3 separate regions of the Homo sapiens genome follow, and regions 2 and 3 are each linked to region 1. Evidence: promoter capture Hi-C in 16 types of primary human blood cells and fetal thymus (Javierre and others, 2016). All regions are on one chromosome and are shown on one strand. The core of a region is centred on a gene start or on the middle of the fragment in contact, and the rest is flanking DNA. Distances in the headings are between cores, read along the strand shown. Region 1 holds the start of DUSP4 (dual specificity phosphatase 4). Region 2 overlaps LOC105379354 (a long non-coding RNA gene). Region 3 has its middle 26 kb from the start of LINC02209.

The links. The method cuts DNA at HindIII sites, captures the fragments that hold promoters and counts their contacts. A CHiCAGO score of 5 or more calls a contact.
Region 2: a fragment that was not itself captured here is called in contact with the fragment with the promoter of DUSP4 in region 1 in 4 of 17 cell types (megakaryocytes, endothelial precursors, M2 macrophages and 1 more); the score reaches 6.9 in megakaryocytes.
Region 3: a fragment that was not itself captured here is called in contact with the fragment with the promoter of DUSP4 in region 1 in 2 of 17 cell types (endothelial precursors and M1 macrophages); the score reaches 8.5 in endothelial precursors.

The regions. Positions count from the first base shown.
Region 1 is chr8:29,349,203-29,353,453 of GRCh38, reverse strand. It overlaps DUSP4 (dual specificity phosphatase 4), which reads left to right and starts at 2,770. Exons shown (of 4, transcript NM_001394.7): 1 at 2,770-3,608. The coding sequence starts at 3,176. LOC124901924 (a long non-coding RNA gene) reads right to left here and starts at 2,480. Exons shown (of 2, transcript XR_007060876.1): 1 at 1,920-2,480. RefSeq lists enhancers at 1,853-1,962, 2,003-2,072, 2,771-3,270, 3,593-3,742, 3,271-3,772 and silencers at 2,263-2,402, 2,593-2,912. The HindIII fragment of the contact is 21,736 bases long and covers 1-4,251 here.
Region 2 is chr8:29,870,961-29,875,051 of GRCh38, reverse strand. All of the region lies in intron 1 of LOC105379354 (a long non-coding RNA gene), which reads right to left. Among named protein-coding and RNA genes, the nearest start is that of LINC02209, 49 kb to the left of the region's middle. The HindIII fragment of the contact is 3,375 bases long and covers 1-2,984 here.
Region 3 is chr8:29,893,341-29,897,730 of GRCh38, reverse strand. No RefSeq gene overlaps it. Among named protein-coding and RNA genes, the nearest start is that of LINC02209, 26 kb to the left of the region's middle. The HindIII fragment of the contact is 3,682 bases long and covers 267-3,948 here.

The DNA of each region.
Region 1 (4,251 bases), core at 1,521-4,020:
CTCCTTTGCTGAAATTCACACAACTGAAGGCCAATTCCTGAGTTGGCAATGGGGTGTGGATTTTAAAAATTAGTCTTTTTTAAAAATCAGGCCTTCGCTTTCGCAATTCAAGTGGCTCTCGGCTTAAACACATTAAGTCCCAAGCTGTGACTCCCTTCCAGTGAACAGCCGCGTAGGCGCGGGCACGCACACGTGGACACACACACTCACACGCGCCCTCCCACACCCCTTTCCGTGTGAATCGCCTGCGGGATTTAGGGCTTCTCCACCAGCGATTACTGTCAGGTGCAGAAAGCAAGCCTCTTTGTTCTATGGGCATTTTCCTCCCCCTGGATTTGACTGTTATTTACTGGCCACGTGAGCGCCAGGCGCGGGTCCGGCGGGGAAGGCGACCCCAGAACAGGGTAGACAAAAGCTGGCCCAGAGCGCGACCCGTGCGCCCCAGGGACGTCTCCCCAGCTCCTGCGACACGCGTGAAATTGGCCCGGACCTGCCTCCTGAGAGGCTTTTCCCAGAAATGTCTTGTTAAAGCCTTTGTAAAGGAATCAGTGTTTACTTGCGCCGGGAGAGCTCCGGCCCTGGGTCCTGGCAGGCGGCGGATTTCTGAGCTGCTGGAGAGCAACCCGGGAAAGCAAAATCAGCCTTGGACTGTCGGGGCCCCTGGGGCTCCTTGCTCCTTATCGAAAGCGAGTTATTAGATAGACCCCCACAGTCCCATTCAGCAGAATGGGAAACTGGACTCAGACACCTTTTGCCCTCCCCACAGGGAGGCCACGCCGTGCGGCTTTGACCACTGATCTCCCACCCGGAGTGCCCGACGCCCAGGGTCCTGCCACCGGGCAGCCTCGGTCAGTCCACAGTTGTGGCTCCTTCCAGGGCCTGGACTAGGGTGAGCACAAGCCTTGAGCGCAACATTTAAGAAGGGCGCCGAAAAGTCAGTAATCAAAAGAAATATCTTGATGCAATGCCTCTTTAAAAGAAAAAAAAATGCAAAAAATCCATGATGAATAAAATACTAAATTTTAAAAAGAGAAAGGATCCGTGCAGTGCCATCGTAAGCCATTTTGGAGCCCGGAGCAAAAGGAAATATCACCTTGCCCAAGCGGTGCCCCTACAGCTCATCCGAGTAGGGCCCGGGGGTCGAGGCATTCGGGGCCCAGTGGGGGACGAGGCCAGTCGAAGGTCTCGGAAGTGGAGGCTCCGCCGAGCTCCGGTCGGGGAGTGCAGGGATGGCCCCCGGGACCGGAGGTGAGAGCTCGGGAAAGCCGCTCCGCCCGGAACAAAGGCATGGGGAGAGGGTGAGCTTGGGCGGGAGAGACCCGGCGGGTACCGGTGCCCTCGCTGCCTGGGTCGGGCTTCCACGCGCGCCCCGGAATGGAATACGCTACTCTGCAGCCTCCGAAACTGCGAGCGAGTCCTGTAACTCCCTTGCTCTGTGATTAATTCTCACTAACAAGACTTGGCAAGATGTCGGGCGAATGATTTTTGGCTTCTGCACGGTCCCCACCGCGTGCGTGCACAAACCCCCAGCCAAAAGCCGCCTCTGGGAAATTAAATGCAAAAGAGAAATGGGGATGGGGAGGGCTGCTACGTGACCAGGAAAAAGGGATGCCCAGAAACATGAATCGGACCCAGAGCTGCTGAAGTCCTTTCAAAAGGTCATTCTTTGCGGGTACATTTTCCAGGGTCCAGCTCCGCAACAAATGTGGACCCTGTCATTTCCTGAAAGGATAATTCACAACTATGCAAGATAGGGTGAAGACGTTTCCCAAACCCGAAAACCTTGTTTTTCCCCCGACCAGGGTTAAATAAACATCTTTTAGGAAGCGTGGACAGGAGCGCAGCCTGCTCTCCTCCCTCGGAACACCATTCCGGCAATTAATGCCTCCCTTTGGGTAGTAAAGCAACAAACCCCACACCTCACTCCGATCCTGGGCTTCGGGCGGGAGGACTTTCTCTTTCATCTTCCAAGCAGGGGGTTGCCCACGTTCTTGGGGAAGCTATAAAACTGATTTAATGGCTTTAGATGAAAATCGATCACGCTAATGCATACGCTAACGTCTCAGGAATCGCATATTCAGAAAGGACTGGCCGGGCCGAAAGCGCACGGGGAGTCTGGGGCTAGGAGGTGTCAGGCCCCGCTGGGTGGGCAGCAGCGCTCCGGTCCCCTCTCCACTTGGGTAACCGGGAAAAACCTACGGGGCTGTCACGCGGGGAAGCGCGAAGGTGCCAAGGGATGAAAGCTCAAACCCGAGCCCTGGCCTCCTCAGCCGGCTATTTCCTTTGGCGCCGCCCGCCTAGCGGCGGGGTGCAGCGGCGGCACAGGTGCCGGTGTCGGGCTGGAGGCGCGGCGCAGGCTGGGCCCGCGGGTAGACGGCGAAAGGCGCCGCGCGCTCCATTCACAAAGTCCGGGCGCTGCCCGCCGCTGGCGGCGGGTCGGAGGCCGCCTCCCTCTTCCTCTCGGCCTCGGTTTTATGAATGGGCCTGATGGCGAGCACCCGGCGCCCTGTTTACTCCGCTCTTTGTGACGTCGAGTTCCCGTGACCGGGAGCCAGCGGCCGCGCTCCATTCAAGCTCCGGGGAGGGGGTGGGAGGAGGGGCCCGGAGGGGGCGGGGAGTCAGCGCGGGGGGCGGGGGACAGCGCGGGGGGCGGGGGACGGCGCGGGGCCCGGAATGGAACGGGGCGGGGCCTGGCGGGGTAGTACCTAGCGCCCCCTCCCCCGGGAGCGCGGAGGAGCATTAATAAACCTCTAAGCCGAGGAGAAAACTCTGGCTGGGGCAGTGCGCTGAGCGCCGGAGGAGCGTAGGCAGGGCAGCGCTGGCGCCAGTGGCGACAGGAGCCGCGCGACCGGCAAAAATACACGGGAGGCCGTCGCCGAAAAGAGTCCGCGGTCCTCTCTCGTAAACACACTCTCCTCCACCGGCGCCTCCCCCTCCGCTCTGCGCGCCGCCCGGCTGGGCGCCCGAGGCCGCTCCGACTGCTATGTGACCGCGAGGCTGCGGGAGGAAGGGGACAGGGAAGAAGAGGCTCTCCCGCGGGAGCCCTTGAGGACCAAGTTTGCGGCCACTTCTGCAGGCGTCCCTTCTTAGCTCTCGCCCGCCCCTTTCTGCAGCCTAGGCGGCCCGGGTTCTCTTCTCTTCCTCGCGCGCCCAGCCGCCTCGGTTCCCGGCGACCATGGTGACGATGGAGGAGCTGCGGGAGATGGACTGCAGTGTGCTCAAAAGGCTGATGAACCGGGACGAGAATGGCGGCGGCGCGGGCGGCAGCGGCAGCCACGGCACCCTGGGGCTGCCGAGCGGCGGCAAGTGCCTGCTGCTGGACTGCAGACCGTTCCTGGCGCACAGCGCGGGCTACATCCTAGGTTCGGTCAACGTGCGCTGTAACACCATCGTGCGGCGGCGGGCTAAGGGCTCCGTGAGCCTGGAGCAGATCCTGCCCGCCGAGGAGGAGGTACGCGCCCGCTTGCGCTCCGGCCTCTACTCGGCGGTCATCGTCTACGACGAGCGCAGCCCGCGCGCCGAGAGCCTCCGCGAGGACAGCACCGTGTCGCTGGTGGTGCAGGCGCTGCGCCGCAACGCCGAGCGCACCGACATCTGCCTGCTCAAAGGTAAACGAGGGCTCCGGGCGCTAGCTGGAGTCGGGGAGATGGAGGGGGTCTTGGCGGCCTGCGCCTTATTGGCACGGGAAGGAGTCCCCGGCGTGATTCGTGGTTGCGGGGATCCCCGCGCGCCCCTTTGTGTGTGTTGGTGTGTAGGGGTTTGCAAGGTTTCTGTGCAAGTGCGAGGTTCAAGTCCTCAGGGAAAGTGCGGACGGGTTTCTCCGGTCACCTGCAATTCCGCACCGTCCTAGCGAGGCCCCGTTTATTGACATTAACGGTCCTAGCCTCGAGGATGAAGCGACTCCTCTGCGCGGTCCATCTTGAGTCCCGGGAACAGTTTCCAAGTACCACGGGGCGCGTGGGGACAAGATAGGCCTGTTGGTTTGGCGTGCTGGGGCCCTACACTGAGCCGGACCGGGAGAATCCCAGAGGTGGAGAAAAGGTGAAGAGGGGTGGGCGCCGAGGTACAATTGGCCTTGCCAGTTTCACTGAAAACAAGACCCTGGCAAATGCAGAAAGGGAGATTGGGTTGCACACACTGTGTAGAGCGATCTGTATCTGCGTTCCCGCTGCCCAACTCCAAGCTCAGCTTGGAAGGTGGCCAATCCCCGTCCCGGGCTAGATCCAGGCTCTGGGAGCGGGAGGCTGAAGG
Region 2 (4,091 bases), core at 48-2,547, 520 kb before region 1:
ACAATCTTTTTCATCAGAGCGCAGTAGTTACTATTAAAAGCTGCAGTCGCATGGCAGGCTGGAAGTGGCGATTTAGAGAAACTTTTGTCTTCCCACTTCCCAGAGTGGTGCCAGATGGAGGGGTTTTGCTGGGACTGGAGAGGGAAGAGTGGGGCTAGGATCAAAGCCAGAAAGGGGAATGCTTCCTAAAGAAAGCCGCATGCAGAGGCCAGTGTAACTCCTCAGTTGCAGAGGGGGCTGTGGTGCCTTCTCTCAGAGCTCAGAGGCTACTAAAAGCTCAGCTCTGAGTCTGAAAGGCTTATATGATCCGGCTCTGGAGCTAAATGCCTCCAGAAATCCCAGCTCGATCACTTACTGCCTGTGTAGCGACAGTCAAGTTATTTTAACCTCTTTAAGTCTCAGACGTCTGATCCATAATATAAGGATATGAATAGCACCTCTTGGGTTTATTATGAGGACTATATGGGACAATATTTATATAAAGTCCATAGCACAGTCATTTCAACTTGACTGCACATTAGAATTACTCAGAGATCTTTAAGGAACACTGATGACTGGGTCCCATTGCCAGATTCTGGGATCATTACAACTGTCCTGGCGTGTGAGTTCTAAAAACTCCTTAAGTGGGCCAGGCGCGGTGGTTCACGCCTGTAATCCCAGCACTTTGGGAAGCTGAGGCGGGTGGATTACCTGAGGTTGGGAGTTTGAGACCAGCCTGACCAACATGGAGAAACCCCATCTCTACTAAAAATACAAAAATTAGCTGGGCGTGGTGGAGCATGCCTGTAATCCTAGCTACGCGGGAGGCTGAGACAGGAAAGTTGCTTGAACTCGGGAGGCAGAGGTTGTGGTGAGCCGAGATCATGCCATTGCACTTTAGCCTGGGCAACAAGAGCAAAACTCCGTCTAAATAAATAAATAAATAAAAACTCCTTAAGTGATGTGCTATGTTTAATTGCCCCCACTGTGATCTCCCCCACCAAGTTCATGTCCTTTCTGGAACTTCAGAATGTGGTTTTATTTGGAAATAGATTCATTGTGGGTGTAGTTAGTTAAGATGAGGTCATATTGGAATAGGGTGGGCCTTTAATCCAATAGGACTGGTGTCCCTATTAGGAGAGGAGAAGAGACACAAAACAGACAGGTACAGAGACAAAACAATGTGAAGAGACACAAGGAGAATGCTGTGCAACAGAGGAGGCAAAGATTGGAACGATGCATCTATAAGCCAAGGAATGCCAGAAATTACCAACAACTCCCAGGAGCTAGGAGAGAGGCAGGGAATGAGCTTTCCTGCAGAACCTTTCAGAAGGACACCTTGATTTTGGACTTCAGGCCTCCAGAGCTGTGAGAAAATACATTTCTCTTGTTTTTAGCCACCCAGTTCCTGGTATTTTGTGACAGCAGCCCTAGAAAGCTAATGTGGATTGTCATAATATACAGCCAACGTTGTCAGTCACAGCCATAGATGGTAGAATGTGGCAGAACATGGCTCAGAGAGCATCAGCTATTTTCATTATCTCAAAGCAGATAGCTTTAGCCATATTTAAGTGTCTACTGAGTCTCAGAAAAGCATATTGGATAGTAGTTGGTGCTGTTTGAGAGGAAAGAGTCCTAAGGAGCCCTGTTCTCTCAGGATGGGCCACCCTAGTCAATCACGGGGAAACAGTAGGTGTGATCACTGTCACGGGAATCCAGCCCATTCATAATAGTCTGAGAAAGCAGGTGCTCCATGTCAGTCTGGGTCTCAGAAGTTTGGGACACGCTGCATTCCATATTCCCTCTGTATTAGTCCGTTCTCATGCTGCTATGAAGAAATATCCAAGACTAGGTAATTTATAAGGAAAGAGGTTTAATTGACTCACAGTTCTGCATGGCTAGGAAGGCCTCAGGAAACTTACAATCATGGTGGAAGGCGCCTCTTCACAAGGTGGCAGGGAAGACAATGACTGCCGAGCAAAGAGGAAGCCCCTTATAAAACCATCAGATCTCATGAGAACTCACTCACTATCATGAGAACAGCATTGGGAAAACTGCCACCATGATTCAATTATCTCTACCTGGTCCCACCCTTGATACATGGGGATTATTACAATTCAAGGTGAGATTTGGGTGGGGTCACAGAGCCAAACCATATCACCCTTCTTTGAAGAAAACAGCATACGTTAGCATGTTCAAGGTTCTCCTGGAGTAAAGAAACCCCTTTGATTTTACTTATACCAGAATTTCCCAAGCCAGTCTGACTATGTCAAGCTCAACTTTTTCCATAACATGTATTATCCCAGCAGAACCAGTGCTCTGGAACCTGAATTAGGAAATCCTGACTAAAGTCACACCACCACAGGTGGGTACACACCTATCCAGAGGGAAAACTTAAAGGAAAAGGCTGGGCACGGTGGGTCACACCTGTAATCCCAGCACTTTGGGAGGCTGAGGCGGGTGGATCACTTGAGGTCAAGAGTTCAAGACCAGCCTGGCCAACATGGCGAAATCCTGTCTCTACTAAAGAATACAAAAATTAGCCGGGCGTGGTAGCATGCACCTGTAATCCCAGCTACTCAGGAGGCTGGGGCAGGAGAATTGCTTGAACCCAGGAGGCAGAGGTTGCAGTGAACTGAGATCATGCCACTGCCCTCCAGCCTGGGCAACAGAGATAGATGCTATCTAAATAACAACAACAACAACAACAATGAAAGACCAAAAAACCAAAAAACAAAACCTTAAAGGAAAGTGATTCCCTTGTTTTGTCATCAGGAGGAGCTCAGCATGGGCAGCACTGAGAGATTTGGAAACTCCAAGATGTTTTCCAGTTCAAGAGCACAGGAGCAGGTTGCACATGGAAGTTGGCTATGTACACTGCATAGATTCTCTAGAATAAAAAAAAATCTTCCTGGACATGAAAGTGTTCTGGGTCAAGTTTTAGAGCAGGGATGCCAGTGTCCATTGAGTTTGTCACCCTTGAATGCACTGGACAAATGCAAGCTTGGTGGTGAAGGGTGGTTTTTAAAGAGCAGCATTGTTTGGTCTTCAGAAGTTTGAGGGAAGATGTAACAGCTGTTGGAGGGTGTAGGGGGTCATAACAGCTGTTCTTCCTCTTCATGGAGAGTGGAATGAGAGAAAATGAAGCAGAGAAGTCTTCTGAGCTGTGAGAGAGCATTTCCCAATAATTCACAAAACTTTAGAGTGATAGAGTCAGAACTCAAAGCCAAGTCTCAGATTCTGAATCCTGTGTTTTTTTCACACCAAGGAATGCTGCGTAGAGGGTGAATCTGAGTTTATAGACTCAGTTATGCAAAGAATGAAACTGTCTTTCTCTATAACGTAACAACTGTTTCAGACCTCCATTGTGACAGAGTGGCAGAAATGTAATTTTAGTCAATTACTTTTGGGGTTGCTATTACCTTTGGGATGGTACCCAGTTCCAGGGGCTTACATGGGGACCATATGAGAGGGGGTGGGCAGCGCTGTGGTCCCTGATGTCTTGCCTCTGCAGGTGTCCTCTGGAGTATCCACTTCTTGTCTGGTTCTTGGTCATCTGTTCATGAAGACTGTCTCTGTCTCTGTCACCACAGCTACTTTGGTTCTGGTGGCTCTACTTGTGAGCCAGGTTAAAGCATGGAGGTCTCTGACAGGCTGTCTGTGCTCTTGTTGGTCTAGGTAACCTATATAGTCATTTTCTCTCTGGCATCTGGCTGCCCCCCTGAGACTCAGCTCGAGTCAGGGTACAGGGCTTTGCTTTCTTTTTCCTCTGAGGCATCAGCTTTTTGAAAAACAAACGAGGAAGATCACTTTACTTCCTTGTGTTCCATTCAATCATATCATCTCCTCTTCAAATGAAACAGAAGAACCAGGGGAGGATGATGATGAGAAAAAACCACAAGACCCTCAGAACTTCTGAACTACTGAAAAGAAAAAAAAACCCGTCACCTAATGTAATACTTCAGTAGTAGTAGTATTCCAGAAACTTCTCCCATTGCAGTGGGCCCTGGAGGAAGGGTGTAGTCTTTTCTTCCCCTGACTCATGTAGATGGATAAGTTCTGGGGCTCTGGGGCTCTACAGTATGTATGTACTGGGGCTGGCCTGTTGCCTA
Region 3 (4,390 bases), core at 858-3,357, 540 kb before region 1:
CTTGTTCACTGAATAGGAACGTTTCAATATCAAGGATAGAAAACTCAGCTTTGATTTTCCTGGCTGAGCTGTTACCAGGAAATTCCCTAGACTCACAGTTTGAATCTCATCACCCCTAAAGTGAGGAGTATTTACAAGCCTAATGACAGAGTTTCATTATCTGGAGACAAGACCTGGAGGGAGATAAAAAAGCTTTGTTTCTATGTTCTGTTTTCTTAGGGTAGAAACATTCCAAATAATTTTATGCCAGGCCAGAAAAGAAAGCTTTGTATTAAATATGGAGGACCTGCCTCCAAACAGAGGTGTTGACTCTGATCTAAAGTCACAGACATTGCTGTGGAAATTTTCTTGTTACCAGCTTTGTGCAGCCGTGGTTGGAGGGTCATTCTATCAGCCCAAGGGGGTTCCAGTCCCGCAGCTTGTCAGGAGATGCTGGTGAGTGGAAACAGAATCCTTCATCCTACAAATCACAGATGTGATCTTGACGGTCACGTTGGTTGGAGTCTTGAGATGCAGGTCCTCAATACCTATTAACCTCACCAGGATATGGTAACCTTTGTCTTCTTTGTCATTTTCATAGTTAACGTGGTAACAATGTTTGATAAATGACAATGAGGAGTTAATTCCATTGTGGCATTGAAAGGGAATACACATGGTTTTTAGCTTGAGAGTCCTACAACTTAACAGAAAAAGACAAGAAAAGCGCACATTCCAAAGGCATGAAGACAAAGAACAGACACCCCTAATTCCATATGGTTTGGATGCTCTGCATTTTGCTCCTGGCTATGCCAGGTAGTCACTCAGGTTGGTGGGGTCTCGGTGCCTGGGACACCCACCAATAACCATTTCTGTCTGGTCCTATGATGGTGTTAGATTCTGCAGATAGTCCTGGTTCTGAGAATACCAAAGGGATCAAAACACAGTAAGTAGTCCAAGCCAGTATTGTTGATTCCAAGAAATCACTTGGTTAATTGTATTGGCATTTATAGGACATATCGAAGAGCTGGAAGTAATGTAAGTGACGTGGATATCTGGGTGATGGCAAGTATGATGGGTGGGGATATTGACTATGTTAGGTTGGATGATCTCATAGCCTGATTTTAGGATGATGGTCCTGGTTCATGTGGAAGATATATGAAAGGTTAGAGCAAAAGTCTACTGAAGGCCAGGGGCAGTAGCTCATGCCTGTAATCCCAGCACTTTGGGAGGCCGAGGTGGGTGGACCACCTGAGGTCAGGATTTCGAGACCAGCCTGGCCAACATGGTGAAACCCATCTCTACTAAAAATACAAAAATTGGCCAGGCATGGTGGTTGGCGCCTGTAATCCCAGCTACTCAGGAGGCTGAGGCAGGAGAATCGCTTGAACTCGGGAGGCAGAGGTTGCAGTGAGCAGAGATCATGCCATTGCACTCCACCCTGGGCAATAGAGCAAAACTCCATCTCAAAAAAAAAAAAGTCCTCTGATGTAAGGCTCAAAGCATGAGGTCCAGGATTCTAGGCAAGGAGGTTAGGAGTCAGCTTCTGGGTCGATGACTAGAGAGATTCTTCTCAGGTTTCACTGAGGCAGTGAACTTCAGCAGGGTTTTGGAAGAGAAAGGAGCACTTCTTTATTGAGAGGATGAATGTATGTGAAACAAGGGAAGATGGTGAATGATTTCTATCTGCTAACTGAGCAGACTGGTCCAGGACGCTACTCTGTCCTTCTGGGGAAAATCTGAAACATAACCCTTGGTGTCTTACAAACCCTGGAGAAGTCAATGTGTAGGGTGGCACTGTCAACCTAAGAAATGGGCAGTTGCCTCTCATTTTAAAACCACCATCAGGATTATTTATTTGGCTTCCTTGGCAGTCAGAGAGAGTTGGCAGCTAACTCCCTTGGCTTGGCAGAGTCATGAGGCAGTCTTGAAAATCTGTTGCATTTTAAAAATTGTATTGGAAATTCTGAGATATTTTAATCAGTTTAGAATCAATCCACCTCAGAAAAAGAGGATGCAAGTTTGAAAACCATGCCAGTGTAGCTTTTTAATAGCTAATTATGCTATAGGCAGGGAAATGGTCAGGCAGTGACTCTTAGAATGAATAATGACATTAGATGAAATACAAAACAAATCCATACAGGTTTTATTGGATTGGAAGTAAGAGACAGAGAGAGGCTGAAAATTTACCCAAATCTGATTAGGGAAATAAAACCTCAGACAGAAAAATGATGGATGGTGTGAGCTGTTTAATTTGGGTCCCTTAGAGAGGTAATGTCCTCAGAGAATACACCACAGAGTTTCAGAGCTGAAGGGAGTTCAGGCATTTAATCCAGATGCTCATTTTTACAGAAGAGAAAACTGAGGCTTAAAGGAACAAACAACGTGACCAAGGTCTTACCAGCTGATAAGGGACAGAGTTTAATTTTTTTTTTCTTTTTTTTTTTTGAGACAGGGTTACACTCTGTCACCCAGGCTGGAGTGCAGTGGTGCCATCTCGGCTCACTACAACCTCTGCCTCCTGGTTTCAAGTGATTCTCATGCCTCAGCCTCCCGAGCAGCTGGGATTACAGGTGCCTGCCACCAAACCCGGCTAATTTTTGTATTTTTAGTGGAGACAGCGTTTCACCGTGTTGGTCAGGCTGGTCTTGAATTCCTGACCTCAAATGATCCACCCACTTCAGCCTCCCAAAGTGCTGGGATTATGGGTGTGAGCCACCATGCTTGGCCAGAGTTTAAATTTGAATCCAGATCTTTTTTTTTTTGAGACAGGCTCTCACTCTGAGGCTCAGGCTAGAGTACAGTGGCATGATCATTGCTTACTGCAGCCTCGACCTCTTAGGCTCAAGTGATCCTCCCCCCTCAGCCTCCTGAATAGTTGGGAGAATAAGCATGCACCACCATGCCTGGATAATGTTTTTTATCTTTTATTTTTTTTTAGAGAGAGGGTCTCACTATGTTGCCCAGGCTGATCTTGAACTCCTGGGCTCAAGTGATCCTCCCACCTTGGTCTCCCAAAGTGCTAGGATTACAGGTGTGAGCCGCTGCTCCCGGCTGAATCTAGATCTTCTGACTATTGAAAAGTTTGAGGCCATTTGATGAATCACAGTGCTCAGCCCATTGACAGACCTACCGGTGAAACATGCTCAATAAATATTTATCAGGGTCCATGAGTCAGTTTTCTTTGTCATCCAAGCCCCTGTGTCACCTGTCAGGCACTCGGGGATCCCAGTAGCTGAGTAGCTAATACCATGCAATGTACCATCTTGTGTCTTTTAGTCTTTTCAGTGGACAGCAGGACACTGGTCTGGATCCTGGTTCCCTTGGTTCTCAGATGAGGCTCTCAATGTCTAGGCTGACTGATTTGACTCTGTTCCACGTGCGTCTCCCTTGCAGACCCCTTAGCACACCCGAAATGCTGTCAGCTCAGCTCCCCCGATCAGCGTCATCACTTTCCCACAGCCACAAGCCAGAGAGCCTGCAGAAATGTTTGTCTTCCTGTGCCCTTTATTTCAAACATGGAATCAGTCCTAAATTCAGGCTCGTCTTAAACTGTGCATTCAGCGTTGTCTTTACTATTTTTGAGGCCACGGTCATAGACCAGGAATTCATTGTTTTTCCAGCTACCTCTTTTGCACTCTTTTTTCTCTGCTATGGATCTGACCAGAGCATATTTTTTCATTAGGTCTGAATGTGAGTTTCCATTCCCTTTTGGATCAAGTCTAAGATTTCATTGTGCACCTTTTCTTATCTTTTCATCTTTTATATTGTATTTCAATATCTTTCCACCTCAAAGAATAATAAGTCTATGGAGGCATCTTGGAAACCCAGGGAGTAAAATGTGGTGTGTTTATGTACAAACTGGTCCTACCACAGTGACTGGAAGATTTCTTGTCTAGTTCAAGAGACAATCATGTATCTTTCCTGACATTTCTCAAAAGGGACCTTTAGAAAATGACAAGCAGTTAAGCTTCCATTTATGGTACTTTATCATCTTTGTTTTGATAAAAATGACTTATTTTAAAAAGGTTCAAAGTAGCATTCTATTTTCCATGCAGTCTGTTTTTGTGGTTGAAGATGGTTTTAGATTTTTGAAAGCTTTTAAGTCCTCATAAAGGTATGTTGGAATGTAACATGGCCATAGTTTTCCCAAGATGCCACTCCTTTAATCATAATGATCAAACAAGAATTCTGAGGTCTTGGCTTCTGGTTGAAGATCAAGGAATGGATGAAGATCTGTTAGAAGTTGGGCATGTAGAAGGTGGGCAGTGACTGGAGGTGAGGAAACCCACAATACTGTGTATGACATGCTCAGGGGAGATCTGGGATGCCACAAAGCCCTGACCTGAATTTTGCTTTCCCTTCTCAAATCTCTCAAATGCTTTCTCATTATTTAATTCGGACAATATTGATT